2 separate regions of the Homo sapiens genome follow, and region 1 is linked to region 2. Evidence: promoter capture Hi-C in 16 types of primary human blood cells and fetal thymus (Javierre and others, 2016). All regions are on one chromosome and are shown on one strand. The core of a region is centred on a gene start or on the middle of the fragment in contact, and the rest is flanking DNA. Distances in the headings are between cores, read along the strand shown. Region 1 has its middle 44 kb from the start of WDR1. Region 2 holds the start of HS3ST1 (heparan sulfate-glucosamine 3-sulfotransferase 1).

The links. Contacts are between HindIII fragments. The CHiCAGO score rates a contact against its expected background, and 5 or more counts as called.
Region 1: a fragment that was not itself captured here is called in contact with the fragment with the promoter of HS3ST1 in region 2 in 1 of 17 cell types (megakaryocytes); the score reaches 5.9 in megakaryocytes.

The regions. Positions count from the first base shown.
Region 1 is chr4:10,157,635-10,164,592 of GRCh38, reverse strand. No RefSeq gene overlaps it. Among named protein-coding and RNA genes, the nearest start is that of WDR1, 44 kb to the right of the region's middle. The HindIII fragment of the contact is 6,999 bases long and covers 1,789-6,958 here.
Region 2 is chr4:11,425,172-11,431,205 of GRCh38, reverse strand. HS3ST1 (heparan sulfate-glucosamine 3-sulfotransferase 1) reads left to right here and starts at 2,312. Exons shown (of 2, transcript NM_005114.4): 1 at 2,312-2,507. RefSeq lists a silencer at 2,167-2,346 and an enhancer at 2,437-2,656. The HindIII fragment of the contact is 3,893 bases long and covers 979-4,871 here.

The DNA of each region.
Region 1 (6,958 bases), core at 4,039-6,538, 1.3 Mb after region 2:
GTATGTTGGAACGTAGAAAGCCCCCTGGGATGATAGCCAGCCATACATGGGTCATGGAGAGGGAGCAGGAACTCAGTCCTCCAAGGACTCACCTGCAAGCAGCATCAGAGCAGCTTCTCAGCCTCTGCCCAGACAGGCTACATGTGACCCGATAGCAGCCTACAGGAAGGCACAGAGGTCATTCAGACCCACAGTGGGCTGTATCCCACACACTATGACTGTGGTGCCGGTCCCGGTCCCAGTCCCAGGCCATAATAGGAAAAGGATGTCCCAAATCAAGAGGAAAAAAGGCAGTATCATAAGCCCTAGGAGCTCAGTTTAGGAGATGTGTTCTAGGAGGCAGGCAGTCTGCTCCCCAGGGAATGCTCCTTGCCTGACCCAAGCTACCCTGACTCTCCACACTGAGAATTGGAAGTAGTCATTTGGCAGCAGGCATACATCATCTCCCCTGTGGAGAAACCCAATGGCCCTCCAGTGTTCCTAAGAGACATCCACTCAGCTGTCTTCCACAGGGGGGATTTTGACCCTCACAACCCATCCCTGCCCAGCGGTTTCTTGCAACACAGCGAGACACCTATACAGTATTTCCTCCTCTACCTTATTCCTGGCTGGCTGCACTTGCACACGCCTTCCAGCCAGAATACAGGATGCACAGACACATCCTGCAAGTAATGCGAAAGGGCTTGGGGAACACCAAGCATAGAAGTTCCCAACCCGAGCATAGACAACAGGTTATGCCACATGCCTAGAGGGACTGCTGGCTTAGAGATGGGCCACTTGGCTTATTCTTATGGCTTGAGGCCCAAGAAAAGGCCACTGAGCTCTTTGGGGGCATGCACAGATCACCAACATTGACTTGGGGGTGAGGCCGTGCTCATGTTTTCCAGTTCTATCTCCCAAATCACCTGGACTCAGACTAAATGAAGGTAGATTTTAGCAACTGCTTAAGAACAGGAGTTTGAGGCATTCTTCTGAAACACATCAGGTAGAGAGAATCTTCCCCAAAATGAGCGGGGGAGGGGGACCACCAGCTACTGTAGCCTAGTCCCCAGGAAAGAAGCCAAGTTTATAATAAGCAAGTACAAGGCCCTGGAGTGTGGCCAGTCCACAGCACCACTTCCCAGTTCATCTGATGTCACTTAGGCTGTGGCAATACAGGTGGGGGCTCACAGCTAGTCCCCCCTAAGTGAAGAATGGAGCACTAGCAAGATTGAGGGCATCTAAAACATGATAAAGGTCCCAAGTAGTCACTCAGGGAAGCCCCTTGAACACCACCCCCACCCAACCTTCAGTACACACAACCAGCTCCACCAGCTGTCAATCTCACAATGATGGTGAAGCCAAGTCCAGGGTCACCTAGGAGCCTCCTTTCCCACCCTGCAGCTCATCACCTGAGCTTCCCTTGGTAGGTGGATCCATGGTCCTAGAATTGAGGAACTCAAAGCCCTGCTAGGATGCATGGGAAACCTCAGCAGTTCAAGGACAGGTCCCCAGATAAAGGTCTCAGGATCTGCCCTTTTCAGAAGACAGGCAGTACACCCTTCCCTTTCCAAGGAGCTGGGTACTATGCTACACCCGATACCTGGGCTAGAAGTTTCAACATTCTTCTGCGGACAACAGCCCTCGTCGTAATGCAAAGTTTCTTGAGCCAATGTTATGCCACATCCCTGGATGTGGCCACTTCCAATGGCTAGGAGTGTGAGGAGTACACAAAAGCCCAGCCAGGTAATATTCAAGGCTAGCTGTGGAAGCTACTCTGGCTCCAGAGATTATGGCCTCATTTAAGCTTCTTTTCCAAAACAAACAGTTTGCATTCCACCCTGTTCCAGTTTGCTTTCAGGTGTGAGAGCTCACTTCACCAGTAAACCTAACACCTTAAACAATTTCCATCTACAAGTCTGCCTCTAGGGAACACAAATTGACTTCACATACCCAATTATTTCATTCTCAGATCGCTGTAGAAAGTCAAACAACCCACTTGGCTCCTCCAGTATGGAAGTAGGCAGAAGTCCCCTGGGTTTGCTAGTACACATTGGTGTTAGACTGGTTGTTATAAACTTAGTTGTGTAAAGTCCAAGGTCCACCTGGTCTTCCCAAGAGGACACGTGTGTCACCGTGTGACTTTTCACATTGCACAATTGGTGTCTTAAGCCTATACCATGAACCACCTAGAACACATTACAGAATTCGTCCATTCACATTGTGTGCCAATCTAAAAACTTAAAGACAGAAATTTAAATATAGATCAAGGAGATACTTTGTAATGAGGTCAGCACAGAAGGTTTAAGGGAGAGGGTCCACTGGCTGGAGTACAGGAATGCCTTTTTTGTATGCTCTGGACCCTCTCCACCAGGCTCAGCAAGACTGACAAGTCTTACGTCCCAGTCTGACTTCAGCCCCATCCTGCCTCCTTTCTCTCTTCATGGGTTTTAATCTGAATATTTTATACAAACTTAGTGTTGGCTTAAAGTGTCCTTCCCCAAGCGCTCAACTACCCCACCACAAACCACCCACGGAAGTAGTCTCAGCCTGGTTCAAAGGAGCGAACAGTCAGGCTTGCAAGAGCCTCTTCCGTAGCCTGCCTCAGTTTACCAGCAGTTTCAAGAGACAGTTTGCTGCCAGGAAACAACCTATGACAAGCACAATGCACTCCAGTTGCAGTACCTACTTTAAACCAACAACTGTTCTCTGATGCTTCTCCCTTATTACCCACAATGACCCCGGATAGTGAGTTTAGAAGGCATTTACTTCCCAAACGTAGGTCCAAAGCAGACCTAGACAGTGTAGCTCCAGATACTTCCAGAGGACCCAACTACACTGCCAGGTCATGTTTGGCTCCTTTTGCCGGAAGGTGAGCAGGAACTGCTGCTACACTGGGCCATTTCTTGGTGCCCCCAATGCCTGATGGGTCAGGAGTAGCTAGGCCATTACAGCAAACATTGCCTGATAAGGACAGGCCAGCAGGGGCTCAGACATTAGGTGGTTGTTTGGTCACCTTTGAAACAAGCAACTTTGACAAGTATTGGCCAAGTGTGAGGGACTCTGAGGACTGACATTAGGAAAACAGATAATCTTATGGTCCTTCCAGACCAACTGCAGCTGCAGTTTAGGATTTGAAAATCATAGCTGCCCATCAACTGACAACCATGCCAACCTGTCAGCCATTTCATCAGACTTGCTGTCCAGCTGCGGAGTGTGGTTACCCAAGGGCTCCAAGCTCTTTGCTGTTATTCTTGGGATGGCCCCAAGCCAAACTGAGTCGAGCCATTTCTACCTCATGTGGAATTCCTGAGTGAATCCTGCTCTCGTGCTCCCTACTGGACTGGCAGGACTGGCTGATTCACATTATGATCTGACAGCTTCCCTCTTCATTCTAGGTCTTTTGCATTTCTAGTTCTCTCAGCATCTACTTCCTGGACAACTGAACAACAAAGCCACCATTAAGCATCAGTAGCAGTAAATGTAACATGGTGCAAGGAGGCGGAGAGAAAGATTTGGGACCGCCGCCTCTGTAGCCCAGCTAGAAATTTTCATCTCCTGGTGAGAGGTAAGCACACTGGCACAAGGATGGGGAAGACACACTGACAGAATGTAGCCTCACTTTCTTGTGCTGAGCACAGGTCCTGTGCACACCTGTCCATCCACTTCTGAGTCAGTAGGCTCCTTTTTCCAAGTTTGAGTCTCGGACAGTGAGTCTGGTTTCCCAAGGAGTAAGAGCAAGAGGCAGAAAGCCAACTTGTGTCTCCACACGTCAGAGAAGCAGCTCAGAATTCTTTAAACAAGTAGGATAACTTTGCTATGTGTAGGTATTGTCACTAGGCCACACACATGAGCATGTGGTGATTAGCAGTCAAGCCCAACAACCCTGTGGGCCTGTCAGCCTCAGTCAGGATCTGAACACAAGATCTCTGAAGATAATCCCAATGAAGAAAGATGGGGAAGAGGAAGTGGAAAACCAAAGCATAAGTTTATGAAGAATCAACTAAGAATATTTCAGTCATTTAATACTTCAGTCATTTGCAGAGAACCCTTACCCCGATTTTACAACCAAAAAAAAAGTGGCCAGCGAAGTCTCTTGTCCTACGTAACAAACAACTGGTTTCAAAACAAGAGCCATACTACCACCTAGAGGCACATACGATCTACACTGCCAAGAAACCATGATCCCTCTGCCCAAGTCACCTATTTTTAATCCAGAAAAAACAGGTGGAATCTCCCACTGATGACACCGAGCAGAACTCTCGTGCCCAGGAAGTTCTACTGGGTGGAGCTGGCCACTCTTCTGTAGTAATACAGGGGAATCCCAGCAAATAAGATGGCCCAAATAACTGTAGCCCCATGGGTTAAAGAGGATACCAAGCTGGGATTTGGGATATTCAGGTGACAGAGTGGCCTTTCTAGATGTAATGTTTCCTTATCCTTCTGCATGTCAGTATTCTCAAGCCTGAGATGCAAGAAAGCCAGCATGCAAGGCCCTTCCCTCTTGCACTGTGTTCATGGTGTGCAGGTAAAGAGGCAGCAGGAGCAACAAAAGGGCTTCTCTCACCATTTCAAGGACAGCAGAATGGGGATGTCATCCCTAGCAGCCTCAATTACCAGCAGAAGCTAGTCTTTCAGGAACAGGTTCTAATGTATGAGTCACAAGGATTGAGGGAAACAGGTACCTTCACTTCAGTTCCAGCATCATGGCCAGTGTTTCCCAAGTAATGGAGAGTTCTTATGCTCTCAACTGTGGCATATACCTTTTGCAATAGTGATCTCATCTCCACAAGTGCCCCCTGGGCAAGATATGCAGCAGCAAGCAGCTGCAGAGCAACCCAGGTCTCAAGTCCAGCAGCTTTGGGATGAGAAGTCTGCAAAAGTGTTTACTCCTGGGGCCAGGAATGCAATTCTATGAAATGGTGCTGGGCTTCTGGGAGCACTATCCCACAGGTCATCCCACAGCCATCCACATGAAGCTGGAGAAAAAGGACTCTGCAGAGCTTGCATGTAACAATGCTGACCTCAGGAAGACTGTGAGCTACTGATCTCTTCTGATAGGGCAGTGATGTCCCAAGAAGGCTCAGCTAGAGCACACGGCACAACACAAGCACCAAAGCAACAAGAACAACTCCCAAGTGTCAGCCATTACCAAATCCCAAGTAATCTGTGCTTCAGAAGACAGAGGTTCTGGCACAGTCCTTGCCTCAGACATTGTCTCCTCCTCAGCAGATATAACTAATACAAGAATATGAAGGACCCCACTGCTCAGCCTTTGTATGAAGGCGTCTCTAAGGCAGCTACTACAAAGTCATCTCCACGGACCAGGACAGCAGCCATATATCCTTTCAGAGAAAGCCCCACCAGACCTTGATGGAAGGGCACCCCAACATCTGCCTGGCCTGCATACACTTAGGGCATAGTCACCTGACGCTTCTCCATTGAAAATAGGAGATGTCAAGGGAGATGCAGCCCCAGCTGTTGCCCTGTCAAGAGCCCCAGGAGGCCTCTGTGCTGGAGCAGGTGTGCAACCCCCACCACCTTTGCTGAGAGCTGCCTGGGACTAGTGTTTTGAACGAGTCACCTGTGGACATGGACCCACAGAATCTGAGGGGACCCACAGAATCTGAGGGGACCCACAAAGGAGCAGCTGAATGGCATGGTTGACCTGAGTTTTTGAAAAAAGCCCCAACTTTGAGACAATTTTCATGATTTTGGGCTTTAGGATGTGGAATCATTTCTCAAAGTATTGTGGAGAGTTCTGTCGTTTCGAGCAGGTCCTGCTAGTGCTGCCATACATAGCTCATCAGGCCAGCCTACATAACTAGGAAACACCGCTCACACAGCAGTGCCAGCCTTCTAGGTGAGCAACACTTCCTGAAGGGCAGAGTTGCCTAGGAGGTGCTTTTATGTAAAAGCATGTCCATCATGGTTTGTGTTCTTTCCACTTTACTTGACAATAGTTAATGTAGTTACGAAATGTTATAATTTAAGCAATACAGTTACCAAGTAAAAACGGTCTTTTATTCTTGTTCTCAGTCCTGAAGACTATAAACTCTTTGTATAAATTATGTTGTAAGGAGTTTAAGTCTGTTGGATGTTTTTCAAGTTTACATTCTAACCAATGTCATGTGATACTAGTCTACAGAACAAAGCAGGCTTTGTACGTATTTCCACGGCAAAAAATAGTTCATAAGCCAAGCTGATTGTGTTCATGTTTTCCGTGAAAATTACTGCAAACAAACTTGGTACCTGGGATCACGTGATTGTAACATGGGATGCTCGCCTAACACTGAGAACATTTGCCTGCTTAGCACGGTGCCCGGCCTGGTGGGTGGGGGTGGGGGTGGGGGTGGGGGTGGGGGTGGGGGTGGGGTGCGCAGAGCAGCCTCTAAGCACTGAGCTCAGACTCCTGCCAGGCAGGAGAACCTGGGCTCTCCTGCTCATCCATGGCTGCCTCCCCAGGCAGGAATTGTCCACATTTCAGAAGCCATTTGTTCAGGGGGATGGCATTAGTTCACACAGGATCCAGACGAATCTAATGAAAATGATAAGAGTAACAAGAACTCCTCCCCCAGTGTATTCCTCAAATCCGTCCAGGAGTTCCAAGAGCCATCAGCTTGTTTCCATTCTGGCCCTTGGCTGAGGGTCCTTAAGCACCACCTGGTGGCCATGAGGCATCACAACAGACAATGAAATGGTAAGTTCTTAGGAACTTAGCATTCTGACATCACCCCACCCAACAAAGATCATGTGCCCTAGCAACAATGGAACTTTATTATTTAGAAGTCACCCCTTCTCCTAGGAAAGGAAAAAGATATATCACCCATGCTCAAAGAAAATGAGCCAAACTTGAGTTTAGGAGATGGCAGCCACACACAGCAGGCTGTCTTGTAAGGGGCACAGCAGCAACCCCAGGCCACAGAGGGCAGAGCCTCCAGGACCCATCACTGGAGATGACTGCCTGGGCAGACTCACT
Region 2 (6,034 bases), core at 1,063-3,562:
GCAGGATTGTAGGATTCTGGGATTCAGATACCATGGAGGATTCATCATTAAATCACGATACCCAAGCTCAAGGCGTTTATAATCTATTAGAGAAGACAGATCCCTAAATAGATGTTTCAATAATGTGATTGTGTTGTCATAGGAGAGCTAAGCTCTGGCACTACATGAGCTTCTGGATAAGAAACCTAACTCATGACCAGAAGACTTCAGGGAGAGCTATTTAGGAGCAGTGGCAAATGCCTGGACATACACATAAAACTAAGTAAGAACAAAATAGCCAGTTGGTGTTTTTATTTATCTGAATGTAAGAACATAGATTATCGATCAATGAACAATTGCTCAGATTTAAAAAGAAATGAGGAAAACTAAAATGTTAGTCCTCAAATTCCTGTCACTTCCCACATGTGCCCTGCAGTCATTTCCTGCAAATGGAAACTTCCAACAAAATCTCTGGGCTGGAGACCTGGGGTTCCAGTTTCTTTCAAGGTCTTGTGGTAGGGAACTAAGTGGGTGAGTAACCTGCCTTTGGCTTCCAGGGTGCAAACAGAATCATTGCTAACCCCCTTTGTGTCTCACAATGGGTAATGAAATTCATACTATGGCACCAAAGCACTTTGAGCTCTTTAGAAAAAGTAATCATACCAACTTAGAGCATTAAAACCACCCCGTATTTTGAAGGACTCATGATCTGCACTGTGCTTGGCTGCTGGTGGAAGCTTAAAGACACCAGTAATTGGCAGAACTTTATCTTAGACTTCCATTTGACCCTCACAACCTCACACATGATTTTACACAGCTTCCTATAATGGGGGAGAAAAGCCCTTCTTTTAAATCTAATGTTAGTTTAAATGCTAAGGCTTTCAAAGTGGGCCTTTAAAGTCACTTTTTAGAATTTGTATTTTTTTTTAACCTAAAATAGACATGCCAACATTATTCTGACTAAAAGAAGTAGACAAGGTCATTCAACTCCTAAAAGCTTATTTTCCAAAAGCACAGTTAGGTCTCAGCTTTCAGGGTGCTTCTGGCTGTATCAAAAAGACAGAATATACTGGTCACTGTGTTGTTTTCTGAAAGTGCCGAGGGTAATCTGTGTATGAGTTAAAGGGCCAATTTCCTATAGGAACCTTCTCTTAGATGGGATTTTTTTTTAATTAAACAATGTTGGTGAAATATATTTAAACGTAAATCACAAATTCGAAGTCTTCCAAATATTTATTTACTAATGTGGAAGACATGGAAACTACAGTAATCTCATTTAAAGGAAGTTACTTTGATGTGCATTTGCTTTTGGCGGGGTATGATTGCTGACCTGCCTTTGAGGGCAACTTCCTTTGGCTCAGGTAAGCAGGCAAACCCGTTTCTCCAAGGCGATTCCAACCCCACGCCCCTCAAAACCTTAAATCTTAAATTGAGTTATTGGGTGCAGGTCCTTTCTCCCACAGAACCTCCCAGCTTCCGGAATAGAGGAGCGGGGCAGAAATATCCTGCTTTTTATTTCAGAGCTGACGTTTGCAATCCTAGTGCACTAGCGGAAAAAAAAAAAAAAAAAAAAAAAAAAAAAAGCTGAATTTTCCGCGCTCTCCTGGCAAATTGGCGTCCGCTCTCCGACGCTAAACCAAAGGAAAAGGAGTGTTCAATGGCGACAGGGCGCTCTTTGAAGCCGGCTCCTCACGCGGATTCTGGCCCAGGCCGCCGCTCCGGTCCCAGTCCGGCTGCAGAGCGAATTGGAGAGGATGGCACCTCCTGCTTCCCGGGGGGCGGAAGGAGCGCCAGCGCCTAAGGTGGGTCACCTGCCAGGAAGGGAATACGCATGGTGCAGACTCACGTGGGAGGAGCACAGGTCCCGGGTACAAGTGCCGAGCTGGCGACTTAGAGAAGAGGTAGACTCGGGCTCAGACCAAGCAGGCGTAAGGGAGTAGACGGGACGTCCCGTGTTTGCAGTGACGGCGGAGTCACCCATCCCAGCAGCCTCACCTTCTTGGAGCGCTGGTCCCTCCCCTTGGACTGAAACCCCAGGGGCCACCGCACCGGGTGGGCGGGACCGACTACTACCCGACCAGCCGCTGGAGCTGCGTGCCAGGCGGGGCTGTGCGGAGCAGCTGAGCGCAGAGCGGAGCACCAGGCACCTAGCGGGCCGGACTCTGGGCGGCACCCGAGCGGGCCGGGCAGCAGTGGGCGCTCGCGATCCTCCTCTGCCCAACGCGCTCTCCCTCCGGGCCCGGCCTCCTCCGTCCCCTCCTTTTGCTCCCGCTCCTCCTCCCGCTCCTCCCCCTCCTCGGGATTGAGCACCAAAACGCCCGCCTGCAAGGTCCTCTGCGCCCTGGCAGCCAGGAGTCGCCGCCACGACAGCCGGGTCTCAGTGGGTGCCTGCGCCTTCTCCCCGCCCGCCTGCCCCGGGCCATCCAGAAACTTGCTCTACCCGCCGCGGGTGCTCGGCAGTGCTGCCCATGGCCCAGCCTAGGAGCCTATTTAGGGCGCCGGACGGGCTGGACAGAGGCGCGGCTCAGGTGAGTGCGGCGCGCGCGGGGTGGGAGAGTGGCAGGACGCAGGTGTAGAGGGCTCCGAGGTGCCTTTGTCTGGCGTTCTGGACTTCGGGCAAGTGCAGAACCTAAGAAGAATCGAGGCTGGAGCAGGTGGAGTGGATGCAGAGGGAACCAGGAAGCAAAGGCTGGGGATTTTCCCATCCTCCTCACCTCCTGCCCTAGCACCTCTGCTCTGGAAGTCCCGAGGGACCGGTTGATCTGTAAGGACAGGGACCCAGATTTCTGACTCTTACTGGGTTGGATGTTTTCCCCCCCTGCAGAGTCGTGAGGTTCGCTCCTGCCGGCCGCTTCGCGACCGCAGCTTCACCATAGGACCCTGTAGGGCAGCGAGAGCGCAGCACTCAACGGATCCTGGGTACCACCTGGGGCCAGAAACTGGGGCGAGGACACAGCCCGCAAAAGTAACTCGGCTGAGGGAGCCTTTGGGGGTGGAGAAGCCTTGGTCGGGTTTGCCTTTGCATTTGGTTGGAGATAGGCATCTCCCAAAGAGAGAGATTGAGGTGACAGCCCTGACAATAAACCTCTCATCCCTAATGCCAATTACATGAGGGTCTTGATTTTTTTCTTGTTACTTTTTACTGATTTTTTTCCCCCTTCGTGGTTTTCTATTTCCGGGCCCTTGGGTAGTGGCAGCGGATGGAGGTGAGGGATGGCGGGGTGCGAACCCGCGGTTGGAACGCCTAGACCCCAGCTCCCAGGAAGGGTCTTATTCGCGGAGCTTGACCTCTCCAGGTGCGCTCTACCAGCCAGGGGGCGGACGGCGCGCTGCTCCTCCTTCTAGCCCCAGCCTGTCCCAGGAAGCGGAGGACAGACCCAGAACGTAGGCGGATGATGGGAAGAAGAAGCTGGAGCCAAAGCCGGGTGCCGGCGCGGGATGGGGTGTGCTGGGCTCTGCAGTTATAGGTCTATAACTCTGCAGTTATAGGCGCTATAGGTCTTCCATCTCTTTCCCTCCCCTGGGAGCCAGCGATTCCTCGCACACTCAGGGCGCTCTCTTGGGCCAAGGGTTGCATCCTCCCTCTTCCTCCTCCTTTGCAGATCCAGTGGTACCCTTGCCTCGCCTTGCGCGAGTCTCGCTCCTCCCTTTCCCACAATGTTATCATGAGCTATTTTTATCTACAACTTGTGCCAAGATGCTTTTGGGGGGATTCTAGGGAGGCCACTCCAAATCCACTGTCTTTGCGCTGCGCTCCGAGAAACAGTCTCCTGTTAGCATGGAGCAGCCTCAAGGAGTGGCGGGGAGGGTGGCCGAGAACGGAAGGAGCCAGTCCGCCCTCTTCTCCTCCCTCAGCCCTAGCCCCGGAGGGAAACCCCGCCACCACCAGCTCGGCTGCGCCTCCCGCCAGTAGCCCCGGAAGAGGGTCCCCAGACGAGTCCCCACGCTCCCGCTTTCAGGCGCTGGGTGCTTGGACACTGCTGAGGCAGCAGCCTGGCACAGGCAGGATCCTTCATTCCCACCCGTGCGTTCTCGCTTTGCAGGCAAATCTCATTTTATTTTGTTGAAATGCTTCCACCCAAGGGTTAATTCCAGGAATTCCATCTTTAAAAAAAAAAGAAAAAAAAAGGAGGGAGAAATAACCCAACTTCTGCCTCCCTGCATTTCTAAAGCAAAGCGCATCCTTTGACGTTCGGATTTTTTTCTTGCTTTCTGCATTCCTGGTAATATTGGGTAACACTGGGTGCAATTAGAATAAGCCTTACCTACTGAAATTCCAGGAGACGCGCGCTCCGCTGCAAATCCCTGCCTTACCCTTCCCGTTGTACATCCAGCGCTTAGATTTTCCCCCACAGGATTGCAGAAATAACATATTGAAATGGACCATTGTGTTACATAAGGTTTTCTCCAGCGCTAAGCAGAGAAAGAACAGCTTCTAAAAGAGTCTTTCCAGGTTTTGGTTAGCCCATCTAACTCTTTCAGCTGAGTTTGACAGGGATGGACAACTTCATGACTAAGCACTCTTAAGTGGAAGCAGTTAATTACAACAGCAGCATAGATGAAGATTCCTTAGTGAGGCTTATTAAGCTGTGCTTCTAGACTGTGGATCCTCTGTGATGCCACAGGGTATACAATGCTCTGTAGTTTTAAGATAGGAGATTTTTGTTCTGAGAAGCTGGTGAGAAATTGGCATCTTGAGATGGCATCGGAAAAAGCAAAGGGTTCTTTACTTTCCTGTGGTTATGTCTAGAATGAAGCCTCAAGCCCCCCCCCTGGGTCCCCCTAAAAGTTGGAGCATGTACTTTTCTTATTAAAATAAGAAATTATTTTACTGGAAAAATCTTGTGAGGGTTGGGGGGGGGGCCTCTGAAGGGAAAAGCCACATGGAAGCTTCTCTTGCCTTGAATTGAAACTCGATGGTGACTAGGAAGGGGCTAGAAAGATGGCCTGGGTGGTGTAAATTGCTTCACTCATGCACACTGCCTTTCTGAGAACATAGCAGCTACCCACAATGGCATATCCCCACCGTGGTTGCTAAATCATGTCTGTCTATGGGGGCTAAAGTTTGGAGGAAGGCACAGTAAGATGTATCTGGTGTCCTGATGAAATTGAGCCTGTAGGCTGGGTCAGTGCTCAGGCACCAGGTTTCCGGGCCTGCATCTAAGCCTGGGTCCCTGTGTTAGAGACAGTTGTTGCAGGAGAGTGGTAACTTTTTAGCAGCTTCCAGGGAAATGCAGTAACTTTCCAGCTAGTGCTGGAAAATATCAGGGCTATTCCCAGTTTTTTTCCCCTCAACCTGGCTACTTGACCTGGTGCTTTCAATTGAGGCTGCTCTTTTCTTATGGCAGAAGGCAGGAGAGTGCTAGCTGGATTTAAAGCCAACTTCTTGCCCCATGACCTTGGGCAACAATTTCTCCCTCCCTGACCCTAAATTTCTTCCTCTGCAAAACAGTGATGAAAAGATTATTATAAGAAAGTGAGAAAATGTATATGAAATGCATCTTGCCGATTGGAGAACACTTGTGCAATTGTAAAGGGTAAAAAATACAAAAAATTAAGTTTTATCGTAGATCTATTTTAATGTTCATTTTAATCATAGTTTGCATATGTCTGAGTAAATGACATATGCTAAACATTAAGTGGGAGAGATTTCTTTTAATTGGCCAGTCTCTTCTTGTGATCACTCCACCTGAATGCTACAAGCACCGGGCCTCACTACTTCTCAGAATGATTCCTTTCTTGTTTTCAGGATCACAGTCAATTTTTAGAGTGTTTTTCCTTTTAACATAATACACATTACATGTCTTAAGAAAATCTGTTTGAAGAGAGGGCCCTGATGTTAATTAATAATTTTTTTAAAAAAGGAGAAAAGTCACAAATGGGGAGTGACTCCACTGGGGAAAAGTAAAACATGACCAGTGTCACGAGATGACCCGGGTCCCCCTTGTCTGAATCTTTCATCAGCATAATGCACTGGCTCCTCATCATTGCATTTTAGGTGTTGTTCCAAACGTGTCTCCAGAACCTAACTCAGTGCCTGCCTGGCACTTAGACA